Regions from separate parts of the Homo sapiens genome. Here region 2 is linked to region 1. The links are contacts of gene promoters, found by promoter capture Hi-C in blood cells and fetal thymus (Javierre and others, 2016). All regions are on one chromosome and are shown on one strand. The core of a region is centred on a gene start or on the middle of the fragment in contact, and the rest is flanking DNA. Distances in the headings are between cores, read along the strand shown.

Region 1 (2,843 bases), core at 255-2,754:
AGTAATTCTTGTGCCTCAGCCTCCTGAGTAGTAGGGACTAGCATGTGCCACCATGCCCGGCTGATTTTTCTGTTTTTAGTAGAAACAGGGTTTGGCCATGATGGCCAGGCTGGTCTCGAACTCCTAACCTCAAGTGGTCCTCCTGCCTCGGCCTCCCAAAGTGCTAGGATTACAGGTGTGAGCCACCAAGCCAGGCCGACTGCTTAACATTTAGAATGTATGTACAGAATACTTTTTCTACTCAGCATCGGTCTTCCTGCCCCGTCACCTTGTTTTGTTTTATTGGTAACATTAATCCTGATTGTTTTAGATCTCTGAAGTTTAATTAGTTCTGCTATACTCACCAGAGTTTGGCTTTCATCTCGCCTTTCTGCATTTCCAAAATAGGACCGTCTTCATTTTAAAAAATGCTTTCAATTACCCAAGCTTAAGTATTGTTAATCCAATGGGCCTACTTACTATCCACACCAGAAAAACGTTAGGGTTCACTGTATTCATTTAAAATCCAGTTTGGGAAGATGTAACCACCAGACACACACACGAGCGTTTAGTGATACCAAGATGAGGTTGAACAGGGCCCAGTACTCGAAGAAATCGTCGAAGGAGCATCATCGTGGTTAAGACCAGACTCGAAGTAGGTTTTACCCTGACTCCATCACTAGCTCTGCCATACTGGACTACTTAGGAAACTTCTTGTGCCTCCATTTTATAACTAAGTGAAATAAGGAAAGAATTTGAAATCGTGCCCGGCACAAAATTAAGCACTTAATAGATTGGCATTTTTCATTTATTTAAAGTTACAGAATGTCAGGTATATTTTTAAAGCGTTATCTAATGCAGTTCAGAAATTTTAAAGAAGCTCCAGACTTTCACAAAAGGTGAAGTGACTTGCCCAAAGCCACAAAACGAACTGGCGATAGTTATACTATACAGGTTTCTTGAATCCCAGGTCACTCTTTTTGTGAAAAATACGGTGCTGTGGCACCTTATTCTCATTGCCTGTGGCTTGAGTAACTGAAGACGTTTTCATGCCATATGAAAGGTATTTAGCATGCTGCATTGATTCCTTATCAGATTAAATCTTTGCTTTTAAAGAGAATTGATTTTTAGCCCATAGCAATTCTTGAAAGTAAACACTCCAAGATGAAGCTGCCCTTTCCCATCAAAGGTTAGACACCCTAAATCCAGAAAAATCTTCAACGTGTAGGAGACCTGTTCACAGGTAGCTCTAGGTTCCGGTGAAGTGGCTGCAGCACAGCCTTCAGCATCACTTGCTGCCTCTTCTGCTTGCAAGCTTGGTGGTGGATCTAGCGCGTCTCTGGTTGCTACGGCGATTCCCCGGCAGGCGTCATCCGTCGCTATGGCGTTCTGCACTGCGCAGCATGGCTGCTCCCGATTGGCTGAGGCGCCCCAGGTGGCGGAGGAAGAATTGTCGGCATTGGCCTGGCCAGCGCTGGTTGGTGGCCTGGAGGAGGATTTGATTGGAAAACCAACGGTGCAGCTGGCCGCGGTGTCCCTGAGGTTGAGGGGACCGGGAATAGGCTGGGGGGAGGACGGGACGGGCTGAGACTGGACGGGACCCCCGGTCTGCAGCAGCAGGTGACAGCAGCAGGGACAATGATAAGGAGATTGGCCTGAAGGAGGGACCGTCCCTCCCGCGCGGTGAGTAGGCGGGAGCCGGTGCTCGGCTGTGCCGGCGAGCAGCTTGAGTCAGGGTCTCCGGGGAGACGTCCTCAGGTCCCTGTGGAGCGGCCCCGAAGCCTCGGGAGCCAGCTTCACTAGACAAGAGGCAGAGGTAGAGAATGCGGCTGTGGTGGGTAAGTGAGTCACTGCGTGAGGCAGTCTTTTCAAAGCAGGTGGGTTTGTGTTGGACGGATGGATGGTGGGAAAGCGCCATCAACGATGCTTCTTGGCGCTTCCATTTTGATAACGGAATTATTCTGGTTAAATGGAGCCTGAATGTGTCTCTTCCAATCTGCTCCGACGCCTCTGGAGGTTCATTCTTCATCTCTATGAGCGTCGCTTTTCTGCCTTCTCCTTACAGGATGCTGCTTTGACTTTGCCCCTCTGCTTTTCTGCCCTACTTCGGTGAGCCCTTCCACTTCCTCGCCTCAGGCACCATCTATCTGACGATGATTAGAAAGTCTCCAACTGGAACCTAGCCTGCTCTACTAACTGTCAGACCCCAAAATCCAGCTGCCAAGTTAACGCCACACATGTGCAACCCTGAACGCCATCTTCCCCATGTCTGCTGCTGCTCTTGGATTCCCTATTTTGGGCATCACTATCCATTCAGCTTTCAAAAACTACACTCTAGACGACATCCATGACACTTACTGCTGCTTCCTCTGCATCTCTATCAATTATCAAGACTATCCCTTCTTAATAGGTGTTGAATCAATTCCCACATTACCATCTCTATTTTTACTGTCTCAATTTCCACCATCGGTTGGTTAAATTCAACACCCATCTGGCTTCTCCGATTCTAGTCTGGCCCTATCTATCCAATCCACTTTTTTCCCCACCATTGTTGAACTGATATATATATATGTGTATATATATATATATGGAGTCCTTCTAAAAAAGACTCCTTTTTTAGAAGGAGTCTTGCTGTGCTGCCAGGCTGGAGTGCAGTGGAGCGATCTCAGCTCACTGCAGCCTCCGCCTTCCGGGTTCAACCAATTCTCATGCCTCAGCCTCCAGAGAGCTGGGATTACAGGCGCGAGCCACTACGCCTGGCTAATTTTTGTATTTTTAGTAGAGAAGGGGTTTCACCATGTTGGTCAGGCTGGTCTCGAACTCCTGATCTCAGGTGATCCACCCGCCTCAGCCTCCCAAAGTGC
Region 2 (2,843 bases), core at 97-2,596, 920 kb before region 1:
TGCTTCCCCAGTCAAGGTTTCAGATGAGACCACAGACCCTCCTTAGCCAACACATTAATTGCAGCCTTGTGAGAAACTGAAGCAGAAGACCCAGTTGTCATACCGAGATACCTGACTCACAGAAACTATGAGATTAATAAATATGTGCTCTTTTAAGCCACTACATTTTGGAATAATTAGTTATGCAGTAAATACCATCAAATGTTAATCCTCGTTTTAAAGTTCCAAGGATGATTGGTTATCTCTGAGGAAAAAAATTCCCCCAGAAAAAGGAAACAAAAAACATTTTCAATTATAATTTAAGAAAAGTTTTCTGATTAAAAAAAATGTACAAACCAAAAGGGCACAGTATGTTCCAGAAAGAACTGATACAAGATATATCACAGTTAAGCTTCCAAACTCAAGGATACAGAAAGAATTCTTCTAGGATCCAACCAGAAAAATCACGTCACCTATGGTAGGATGATTGCAAGGTGGGGTGGGGATGAAAATCAGGCTGCTCTCAGACTTCCCAGAGCAACATTTAATGTCATAAAATACTGATGCAATGTGTATCTACAAAGTTCTGAGGTACAGAAAATACGACCTGACAATATTATATCCACTCTACATGTCACAAATCTATTAGGCAACAAGCAGTCATTCCCAACCATGAAAGATATCAAGGATTCTAGAACCCAAAGACTCTTATTAAATTAACTATTGGCAATAAAATCAAGCAACAGATCAAAAAAAAATTTTTAAAGACAAAATGTGATGAGCACTGGATTTATGGTTACAGACAAGAATATAAGTATTATAAATTATGACAATGTAAAATTACAACTTACAGAAACTGGGACCTGAAAGAGAAAAGGTGGGGGAAGTATAACTGTACTTTCATACAAGGGAATCACTCAATACTGTTCAAAATTAGAATATGGAGTTAAAACATAATCACTCAAACTTGTCAGTGGGTTTCATATGTTTTCTTGTAATGGAGGCAAGTAACCTTTTATCAAGAAACATTTACATAAACTTTAGCAAATCTTTTGTTTTATAAATTCCACTAAAAAAGTAGTGTATATAATATAATCCCTTTGTATTATCCTTTTGTTCCCAGAGAGATGTCTGTCTTTGTGAATGGTAGAATTTAGAGTAATTTTTGGAATGCATTTTATATTTTCTACATTACTTACATAAATTGAATATCCTTTTTATTAAAAGCATGATGTTGTTTTCCCCCACAACAATAAAATGCAAAAAGGAAGTAAATACTGAAAGCCTGAAGTAGAGTAGAGGTATTGAAAATGAAGTCTCACATATTGTTAGAAAGATTCCTGCATTGGTAGTAGTTAACCTCACAGGCTTCATCTAACGTTAAGTTTCTGAGATCACAGACTTTCTCCCTAAATAAAGATCTTTGCAGCATAAAAATCCCTGTTTTCTATTATATGACTTCTAAAATTCTTTGCCTGGCTTTCAAGGAGCACCAAAATACGACCCTAAATGGCAACTAAATTGTTTTATATAATTAAACTAACCTTCTCATTGTCCTACAAATATCTCATGTTATACTCGGCTTTTATATCTTACTACCTACTTGGAATATCTTTTAATAAATAATTTAGGTGTTTCCATTTCACAGACTATTCCTTCCCCAATACTTAGTAAGATAAACAAAACGAATTTTAAAAAGAAACTATCTAAATGATACCTAGCTAAAGTTTATTTGCTACACAAAATTCTTCCTGAAATCTTAGAATTTAACTAAAAAAATTCTTTCAGAATTTTTAGAGCACTCATCGAGACTTTTCTATATTGAAACATAACTCTAAATTAATACTGCTTTGCAGACTGTATTAGTCTTAATTCAAAAACTTAAAAAAAACCTCAAAGAACATAAAATTTTAAAAATATATTTAAAGAAACTCATCAAAAAAATAAAAAGAAAATAAAAGAATGATACAAATAGACCTGATTGGAAATATGTTTTTAAACCTCTGAGATGGTCTTCCCAACCAAATATTTCATATTATATATTTTTAAAAGATAAGATTATGTATTTGTATAAAATGCTACAGTTTACAAAGTGTTTTAATAATCACTTTTTCATTTACTTGCAAAAATATTCTTACAATCATAATTATCCACAAAAGGACTGTGAGTATACTTTAAAAAATTATAAAAATAAAAATTATAAAAAATATTAGTCAGTATGAAACAATTTATCAAACTTTATAAATTTATCACACAAATGTATTCATCATAATCCTCTTTAACAACACAAAGCTACATTTGCAATGAAGCAGCTAAAGCTTTCTTTTTTGTTTTTCCTCTCAACTATGATTTAAATGTTTATATTCCTTGTTTTAATATTCCAACACACAGTCAAAATGTGGCAGTTGCAGTTGTACATTTACCTTCAATAGTAACTATAAAACCTAAAATTATTTTCAGTTGGCTCCTTTAGTAAGACCCAAAATTTCCTAAAGAAACATTTAACACTTAATGTTACATTTACGGTAATGAGAAAGAGCAAGGATAAGTCAATGTAAAAATGAATAAGCTTTAATGATATTCTTAACAGGATTTTCAGATACTTCTACCACAAGATGGAGATAAAGTAGATGTATTTACACACGTCAAAATATATAATTTTATTAAATTATTTGATATCACTTGGCTCATAATCAGAAATATATGCTACTCTTTATGATAAAGGTAAACTCACTTCACATGTGATCATTTTTAATTTAGTTATTTCCAAAATATCTTTTAATAAAATAAAGACATATAACATTTTCATGTTTCATTTTACACAGGAAACTACCAGTATTAACGTATTTTTAAAAACACGTTGA

What was found. Contacts are between HindIII fragments. The CHiCAGO score rates a contact against its expected background, and 5 or more counts as called.
Region 2: a contact is called between a fragment that was not itself captured here and the fragment with the promoter of NEK10 in region 1, in 16 of 17 cell types (naive CD4 T cells, naive B cells, monocytes and 13 more). The highest score is 13.3, in naive CD4 T cells.

Annotation. Positions count from the first base shown.
Region 1 is chr3:27,368,044-27,370,886 of GRCh38, reverse strand. It overlaps NEK10 (NIMA related kinase 10), which reads left to right and starts at 1,504. Exons shown (of 36, transcript NM_001394966.1): 1 at 1,504-1,662. RefSeq lists an enhancer at 1,746-2,246. The HindIII fragment of the contact is 2,054 bases long and covers 1,297-2,843 here.
Region 2 is chr3:28,288,136-28,290,978 of GRCh38, reverse strand. All of the region lies in intron 2 of CMC1 (C-X9-C motif containing 1), which reads right to left. Among named protein-coding and RNA genes, the nearest start is that of CMC1, 48 kb to the right of the region's middle. The HindIII fragment of the contact is 1,906 bases long and covers 394-2,299 here.